2 separate regions of the Homo sapiens genome follow, and region 1 is linked to region 2. The links are contacts of gene promoters, found by promoter capture Hi-C in blood cells and fetal thymus (Javierre and others, 2016). All regions are on one chromosome and are shown on one strand. Each heading gives the region's core, a stretch centred on a gene start or on the middle of the fragment in contact. The rest is flanking DNA. Distances are from core to core; before and after follow the strand shown.

Evidence for each region. Contacts are between HindIII fragments. The CHiCAGO score rates a contact against its expected background, and 5 or more counts as called.
Region 1: a contact is called between a fragment that was not itself captured here and the fragment with the promoter of ZNF439 in region 2, in 1 of 17 cell types (total CD4 T cells). The highest score is 5.1, in total CD4 T cells.

Annotation. Positions count from the first base shown.
Region 1 is chr19:12,131,472-12,135,963 of GRCh38, forward strand. ZNF20 (zinc finger protein 20) reads right to left here. Exons shown (of 4, transcript NM_021143.4): 2 at 4,298-4,433; 3 at 4,029-4,089; 4 at 1-2,514. The coding sequence ends at 1,116. It overlaps ZNF625-ZNF20 (ZNF625-ZNF20 readthrough (NMD candidate)), which reads right to left. Exons shown (of 8, transcript NR_037802.1): 6 at 4,298-4,433; 7 at 4,029-4,089; 8 at 1-2,514. Among named protein-coding and RNA genes, the nearest start is that of ZNF20, 6.6 kb to the right of the region's middle. The HindIII fragment of the contact is 1,140 bases long and covers 1,083-2,222 here.
Region 2 is chr19:11,846,719-11,850,974 of GRCh38, forward strand. ZNF439 (zinc finger protein 439) reads left to right here and starts at 2,008. Exons shown (of 4, transcript NM_001348719.2): 1 at 2,008-2,212. The coding sequence starts at 2,150. The HindIII fragment of the contact is 1,093 bases long and covers 1,870-2,962 here.

The DNA.
Region 1 (4,492 bases), core at 403-2,902, 280 kb after region 2:
CCACTGGTGGTCTTTGGTCAGAAGTCACTCATAAGAACATGAGATCACCTTTGGTATTTAGAATAGATGAAAATTCATGATCCAGATAAAAACTAAGAATATAAGCATGAAAAGTAAAATCTACATGAGGAAAAATATGCCTGACATCCACATGGCAACACTGACTCACAGTGACCACCGGATAACATGGTAACATTATCAACTTGATCTAATACATGATGTTAATGGGAGGTTGTAATGTAGCTTCTTCATTAAAAAATAATAATTGTTAGTATGCAGTTGTTATAAACAGTTAATAAGCTTATTTCTAAAATACATGAACAGAAGTATTTGTTGCCAAGAAACCGCATTAGTGTTTTTAGTCAGGTATACTCATACAAAGTTAAAAACGAAGTGAGACATTACATTCAGTTGTGAATAACAGCAAATGCTTGAAATTTCCTGATAAGAGCAAGGTGGCTCTTCTCACATAAAAGCCCTTGGTGAGACCAATCACTGCACAATGCAGCAGAGGAACAAGCTCCCATCTAGTTGGTTTAATCAAGAACAGGCTCGCTAATCCGTAGAAACAACAATGCTTGCAATACAAAGTAGACCTCTTAAACCAACTCAATCTATAGAAGAGTTGGGCATCAGTGAGTATTTCCAGCCATAACAACATTTATTAGTTCTCTGGTAAACATTTTAACATTTCTGAAGAAACAGCAAAGTGGGCATGTATCTTTAATGTGGAGCACTGGGGACATATCTGGAGACCTACAACTCTGAGGAACAGAGACAAGTGATTTGGGGGATATTCTCGATTAACAAGCCAAAGAATCAGGAAAATGGGCTGGAAGCGGGTAGCCACACACCTCTCTCCCTGTGTGGGGCCTCTAATATGTGACTGATGCCTTCCTTTTCTGTGCCTTTGAAATCTCATGCAAGATTGGCTATAGGTGAATTGTATTACGAAACCATCCAAGTTCTTCTAGATTTTATTGTCCTATCGCAAGTCTCTCTTCTCAATTCAAAAAGCAGTTATCCAGAGGTTCTTTCACCACTCTCTTTTCTTGTGTTTCAAAGGAAGTGGGACAACAGAAAGCTTCTCCCGTTGCTTCCACTAAAAGGATTTCTCATCTATTAATGGTATGAGTTCTTTCATGTTCTCGACATGAACTGGCACGAATAAAGGCTTTGCCACATTGCTTGCATTGATAGGGTTTCTCTCCAGTGTGAGTCCTTTCATGATATCGAATGTAATTGGAAATAAAGGCCTTACCACAGTGCTTACATTCATAGGGTTTCTCTCCAGTGTGAGTCCTTTCATGATATCGAATGGAACTGGAACAAGTGAAGGCTTTGCCACATACCTTACACTCATATGGCTTATCTCCAGTGTGTGTCCTTTCATGTATATGCAAGGAAGAGAAATACCTGAATGCTTTTCCACATTGCTTACATTCATGGGGCTTCTCTCCAGTGTGCGTCCTTTCATGTATACGCAAGGAAGAAAAATACTTGAATACTTTTCCACATTCCTTACATTCATGGGGTTTCTCTCCACTGTGCGTCCTTTCATGAATTTGAAGTTGTGAAGCACATCTAAAGCCTTTCCCACACTGCTTACATCCATAGGGTTTATCCTCAGTGTGTGTCTTTTCATGCCTTTGAAGGTCCGAGGTACATCTGAAGGCTTTACCACATTGCCTACATTCATAGGGTTTCTCTCCAGTGTGAGTCCTTCCATGCTTTTGAAGGTGTGAGCCACATCTAAAGGCTTTCCCACACTGCTTACATTCATAGGGTTTCTCTCCAGTGTGAGTCATCTTATGATACTGAATGGAACTGAAAGAAATGAAGACTTTCCCACATTGCTTACACTCATAGGGTTTTTCTCCAGTGTGAGACCTTTTATGTCTACGAATTTCACTAGGAAAACTGAATGCATTCCCACATTCTTTACATTCATCGGCATTCACTCCTGTGTGAGTTCTTTCATGTACTGGAAGGGTAGTGGAACGAGTAAAGGCCTTACCACATTGTTTACACTTATATGGTTTCACACCAGTGTGAATTCGTTCATGGATAAGACATAAATTGAGAAAATAGAAGGCTTTCCCACAAAACTTACATTTATAAGGTCCATCTCCACTGTGCATTACCCTGTGTCTTTGAATGCATGAATGGGAAATGAAGGTTTCTGTACATTCTTTACCATCATAGGGTTTCTCTTTAGTGCAAGCTTTATCATGTGATTGAAAGGAGTCAAGATAACTGAAGGCTTTCTTACATTCCTTATTTCTATATGGATTCTCTCCATATTCCTGATACTCAGATGACTTGTGTCCAGTGTCAGCTCTGATATGCGTATTAAGAGATGAATGACCCGTGCCAACTTCTCCACACACACTGCTTTCACATGGTGTTATTCCAGGAAGAGTTTTCCTGTTCAGCATGTCATCTGCAATCTGGTTGAAGCTTTCTCCACAGTGATGACTTTCTTTACTTTCACAGAGTTTCTCTCTCATAAGACTTCAGTGAAAAATGAGAAGCACATTATTAACGGTTTGATTAAAAGTGACTTATAGGGCCGGGCACAGTGGCTCACTCCTGTAATCCCAGCACTTTGGGAGGCTGAGGTGGGCAGATCACCTGAGGTCAGGAGTTTGAGACCATCCTGGCCAACATGGTGAAACCCCGTCTCTACTAAAAATGCAAAAATTAGCTGGGCGTGGTGGCAGGTGCCTGTAATCCCAGCTACTCGGGAGCCTGAGTTGGGAGAATCGCCTGAACCCCAGAGGCAGAGGTTGCAGTGAGCTGAGATTGCGCCATTGTGCTCTAGCCTGGGTGACAAGGGCGAAACTCTGTCTCAAAAAAAAATAAAAAAATAAAAAAGTGATCTATATTGGCTGGGTATGGTGGGTCACGCCTGTAATCCCAGCACCATGGGAGGTTGAGGCGGGCAGATGGCTTGAGGCCAGGAGTTTGAGATCAGCCTGGCCAACATGGCGAAACCCTGTCTCTACTAAAAATACAAAAATTGGCTAGGTGTGACGGCGTGCGCTTGTAATCCCAACTACTTGGGATGCTAAGGCACGAGAATACCTCGAACCCAAGCAGTGGCAGTTGCAGTGAGCTAAAACCACACCACTCCACTCCCGCCTGGGTGACACAGCGAGACTCTTGTCTCAAAAAAGAAGAAAAAAACATGATTTATATCATTAACAACTATTGCACTTGCATTGTTAACACTGCCCGGCAAAGTGTCAGCTTTCTGCTCTGTCTGAATCATTTGAATATTAATGGACTATATGCTCTACAAGATGGTCTGGGTATATATATTTTTTTAAAATTAGTATTTCTATGGGGCTTTGTAATCCTATTTTCAAGTAAACTATTTTACAAATACTAAACATGTGCGTCTTTTTTTTTGAGTTGGGGTCTCAACTCACCCTGTTGTCCAAATTGGAGTGTAGTGGTACCAACATGGCTCACTGCAGCCTCAAACTCCTGGCCTCCAGCAATCCTTTGGTCTGAAAGCCCCAAAGGACTGGCATTTGGGGGTATGCGCAACAGTGCCCAGCCCAGCGTATGTTACATTTAAACATATGTTTTTAGGAAAACTTTCTATGAATACATAAATTTGATACTGGGCTTATTTCTTTTGCTTCTTTTTAACATTTTCTCACTTTTTTTTTTTTTTTGAGACGGAGTCTCGCTCTGTCACCCAGGCTGGAGTGCAGTGGTGCGATCTCGGCTCACTGCAAGCTCTGCCTCCCAGATTCAAGCAATTCTCCTGCCTCAGCCTCCCAAGTAGCTGGGACTACAGGCATGTGCCACCACGCCCAGCTAATTTTTTTGTATTTTTAGTAGAGACAGGGTTTCACCATATTGGCCGGGCTGGTCTCGAACTCCTGACCTTGGGATTCACCCACCTCGACCTCCCAAAGTGCTGGGATTACAGGCGTGAGCCACTGTACCCGGCCTATTTTCTCACATTTTAAGATTTTCTAGAGGCATTGCCTTGTCTTGCGAGAGAAAATTACCTTAGATTTCTCCTGGGATTTTTGTACTCATCTTCAATGTTCTGAACTTTCCATGTTTTTCCTAAAACACAGACCCGGAGAAAACACAGATCCAGAATTAGTATGAATTTATTTAAAAATCATTAGATTCTGTATTCATGGTACATGGTAGCCATGCCTGATTTATTCATCAAAGTATTTTTTGTCCATGTTCCAAATCAATGAACAGCATTGATGAGCTAGAAGCATTTGTTCTCTAATTCACTGGGAAGTAATATTGTCATTCTTACCTACAGAGGTCAGGTTCTTGAAGGTTTCCTGCATCACATCCCTGTAGAGATTCTTCTGGGAAGGATCCAGCAAAGCCCACTCCTCCTGGGTGAAGCTGACAGCCACATCCTCAAAGGCCACTGAATCCTGAAACATCTCACATATATAAAAGAGGACAGGTAAGACTAACAGCCCTGGAGGCCTATACTTTATTC
Region 2 (4,256 bases), core at 758-3,257:
TGATCCAGTCCATAAGGAAACGTCACCACCCTCTGTGTTTTACAATTAGACCATCCAAGGGGGTCAGGGTTTCCCCAGGGAATTTGGTGGGATTTTTTTTTTTTTGAGACCGTGTCTTGCTGAAGTACAGTAGCCTGATCAAAGCTCACAGCAGCCTCAAACTTTGGGGCTCGAGTAATCCTCCTGCCTCAGGCTCCTGAGTAGCTGAGACTAAGGGTACACACCACCTCTCCAGGCTAATAAAAAAAAAATTATGGAGATGGGAGTGTCTCACTTCACTGCTCAGGGTGGTCTTCAACTTCGGGCTTCAAGTGATCCTCCCACTTTGGCCTCCTAAAATGTTGGGATTGCAGGTGTAAGCCATGGCACCCGGCCTCCCAGGCTGTTGTTGAAAGGTCTTTGCAATCTCTAAGAGTTCTGCAGCAGTTTATTCCCTGACAGTGAGAGTCTCATCCTTTCACCCCATTTTGCAGCAGTAGTTGGGTGTTCACTTTTCTTTCCATAAGGAAGCGAGCTTGCCAGTGACCCTCATCCCCCTCCTCATCGATGACTTCTTTGTCATCAGAGCCTTCCTCTTCATAAATTCCCACGGAATCCAAGTTTTCACGTCCCAAATTATGATAGCCACAGGCCCTCACCAGCTGCCATAGCACCCCATTTCATGGAAGCCACCTGACTCTTCTTTGAGCATCCTGTCCCAGGAGCCCCCATCTGTGCTCTCCCGGGCTCCAGGCCCTAGAGCCGCGCTGCTGCAGAGCCCAGTTCCCAGGGCTGCTCCCTCCACGTATCCACATCCATCTCCAGCTTTCCACCCTTTCTCTGACCAGACAGGCCTGGAGGTGCTGCAGTGTCAGTGACCGTGGGTCCCTCCGCTGCCACCTCCACCGCGATCTGGAAGTCTTTTAAATGTACTTAAGTTATCTTAGAATTTTCCTTCCCCACTTTATACATAAACATAGGAGGAGAGCAGGGACTCTGCTGGTGTCTTATTCACACAATGGGATTGAGGGTGTTTGTGTCATGGAACTGATCAATGGGGTGAGAAGTAGCTGAATAACCTGCAGGGGCAGCAGAGCCCGAGGCCAGTGACTCCACGCTGAGGCCAGTCTGGAGCCTGCAAAGGAAGGGAAAGGAGCTTTTCCTGGGGGCTTCCTGGGCAGCCCGCCCTCCCCTACAGGTGGCCTCCAGCTGCTCAGAGCAGCTCCAGAAGGAGTGTGGATTCCGAGAAGCTGTAGGGCCCTGGAAAGCAGAAGACCTTCGTGCAGACGCATTTGTGGGGTTCTGTCCTTTCTGGTGTTGTACCTCTGGAGCCTGGGGCTGTCTTCTGGGCAGGGTTTGGGGTTTGACATACATGGGGTCGCTGGAGTCAGAGTTATTTGTATATATAAAGAAAATGTGTGAAAATCAGGCTAGAGACACAATTGTTTGGTGGCGTCACCTGGATAAAAGGTTTATGAGGTTGACAGTTTATTTAGGTCCGAAGCTTAACCCCAGGTGAGAGTTTCCTGCAGGTGAAAATGAAGATCTGGAAGGACGGAGCATTTTCATACTGTGAGGAGGGGATGGGGGTGTGTGAGCAAGTCTTGGCCATGCCTCATCCCCAATTCCGGCCCGCTCGAGGAAATATGCCTCTCCTCCTGGTGCAGTCTTGCCTGGCCTGGTCTCGGTTCCCCTGCTGCTCTGAGGCAGGAGATGGCTCCTGTGGACACTGAGTCTGAAATTCCCTGCACACTCCTGTGACCCCGTGCAGAACGAAGGAGCGGGGACAGTCCTTTGAGTGAGGAAGACGCTAGTGTTCTCTTCTAACAATAGCAAGTTTGGCTGAAATGCAACTATCCAATAACCCGAGTGCAGGAAGCAGCTCGTGTAAGCTTAGAGAAGCTGTTGCTAGAATCTGTCAGTCTGGCTCCGCAGGGCCTGATACCCAGGGCTTCCGCTGTCACTTAGACGTGGGGGGCGGGGCCGAACATTCCATCCAATCAGAGGCACTGGCTCGGGGCCCTGCCCACTGTGCATCCAGGCACGGAGGATGTTGCATTCCTGCCGTCACCTTTGTCGCTGCGAGGGCGGCGGTTGGGATCTGGCCTTTCCAGCCCCGAGAGGGACCTAGTGCCTCTACCCAGATTTCTGTCGCTCTGTCACCTGCGCTATGCCCTGCTTTACTCACAGGAGCTGTAGAGAGGACCCCGGTACATCTGAAAGCCGGGAAATGGTGCGTGTGCTGGCCGGGAGTGGTGCGATGGGGGAGGGGCTGCCTGGAACTGGCGGGACCCGGGCCTCCCTGTGGGCGACTCCGGGGTCTGGGACCGAGTCCTCCTAGAGCTGCTCGGCCCTCGGTCCCCGCGGCCGCTGGATGTGGGTGGGCCGGCAGCCGGGACTCCGGGCGTCCTGTCCCGTCCCTGCCCGTCGACTGCGGCCTTGGCCCCGAAGCCCTTTTGTGCAGCTCCGCGCCCGCAGCCCGACGCCCCAGCTTGTGCGGGGGCCACGGGAGGGTCATGCGCGGATTTCGACTCGGGTGTGGATTTCGTCCGTAGGAGGAGCAGCGGTCTGTGGGGCCCACAGCCTCCACTTTCTCCTGTTAAAAATTATACTGAGGTACGTTAACAAAAAGTTCATTTGAGGAAACAGCCATTCACGAATGAGAAACACCCGGTCCTGGCTTGTGGTTTGTCAACGGAAAAAAAACAGACTATGTAAAATACAGAAGTGTATTCAGAGCCGAGTAGGAGAGACCTTGGCCGAGGGAAACACAACCCCAAGCAGCCTGGAGTAAGTGGTCCGGAGGCGGCTCAGGACAGTTTGGTTTTATTCATTTCAGAGAGACAGGAATTGCAGGGAAAATGATGGATCAAGGCTGGAAGGTGTAAATTCCATTGGCAGAAAGGGTGGGACCTGTGGAAGGGGGGTTAGGAGGCACAGGTGGTTGAGGGATTCTGTAGGTGGCAGCTGGTTGAGAGTGTGAAGCTTTGTCTAAAGTTTGGAGGAGGTAGGAAGGAATGCTGAAGGAAGGGGGTCTGTTATCTGCCACTTCATTCCATCCCAGCCAAAAAACAGTCCTGTTTCTCTAGATTTTATGAATTCTAAGACGTAACTTTACCTTTGCCTTGCGTGGCCTTAGGTCTTGTTTGTAATTTGGTATCTTGTTGCCACAAGGAGTCTGTTTTTCCAGTCAGAGAATGTCTGTTTTTACATGAATGTGCGTCAGTTGCTGCATGTAAACTCCTAAAGGGAGAGGGTATAAGGAGACCTGTCTCACCTCCCATCCTGTCATACAGAGGCACTCAATTTTCAGGGTGTTTTGGGGGTTCCCTTGGCCAAGAGCCAGTCACTTCACTTAGCTGGGAAGGTACTTTGTTTGTTTTTGTTTTTGTTTGAGACGGAGTCTCCTTCTGTCGCCCAGGCTGGTGTGCAATGGCTCGATCTCGGCTCACTGCAACCTCTGCCTTCTGGGTTCAAGGGATTCTCCTGCCTCAGCCTCCTGAGTAGCTGGGATTACAGGCACGCACCACCACCCCCAGCTAATTGTTGTATTTTTAGTAGAGATGGGGTTTCACCATGTTGGCCAGGCTGTTCTCAAACTCCTGACCTCAAGTGATCCACCCCCCTCGGCCTCCCAAAGTGCTGGGATTACAGATGTGAGCCACATCGCCATGCCAGAAGATATGTTTTTATTTTTGTTTTACATGTTTAAGGCTAGGCTTTTATAAGGTACATGAGGAGACAAACCAGATAAATGCTTGATTGGTTGCAGAGATGCAGTCGCCTTATTTGGACTTGTCAACCGGAAATAATCAAAAGGTTCAGATTTCAGTTGGAAGAGTTTATTCAAGCAGAAAGATAGCAATGACCAAAACACAGACTCCAGAAAAATGGACTCAGTACTCCAAAATTGGAAGTTATGTTCTTGCTTATATTACTGAAAAAAGAGGTCCTGATCAGACCCCAAGAGAGTTCTTGGATCTCACACAGGAAGGAATTCAAGACGAGTCACAAAGTGCAGTGCGAAGAGAGTTTATTGAAAGCTACTCTGGGCCAGCATGATGGCTTAGGCCTGTAATCCAAGCACTTTGGGAGGCCCAGGCGAGAGGATCACTTGAGCTCAGGAGTTCGAGACCAGCCTGGGCAACTTAGCGAAACCCCGTCTCTTCCAAAAATAAGAAAAATTAGCCGGATGTGGTGGCCTGTGCCTGTAGTCTCAGTTACTCAGGAGGCTGAGGTGGGACAATCACTTGAACCTGGGAGGCAGAGGTTGCAGC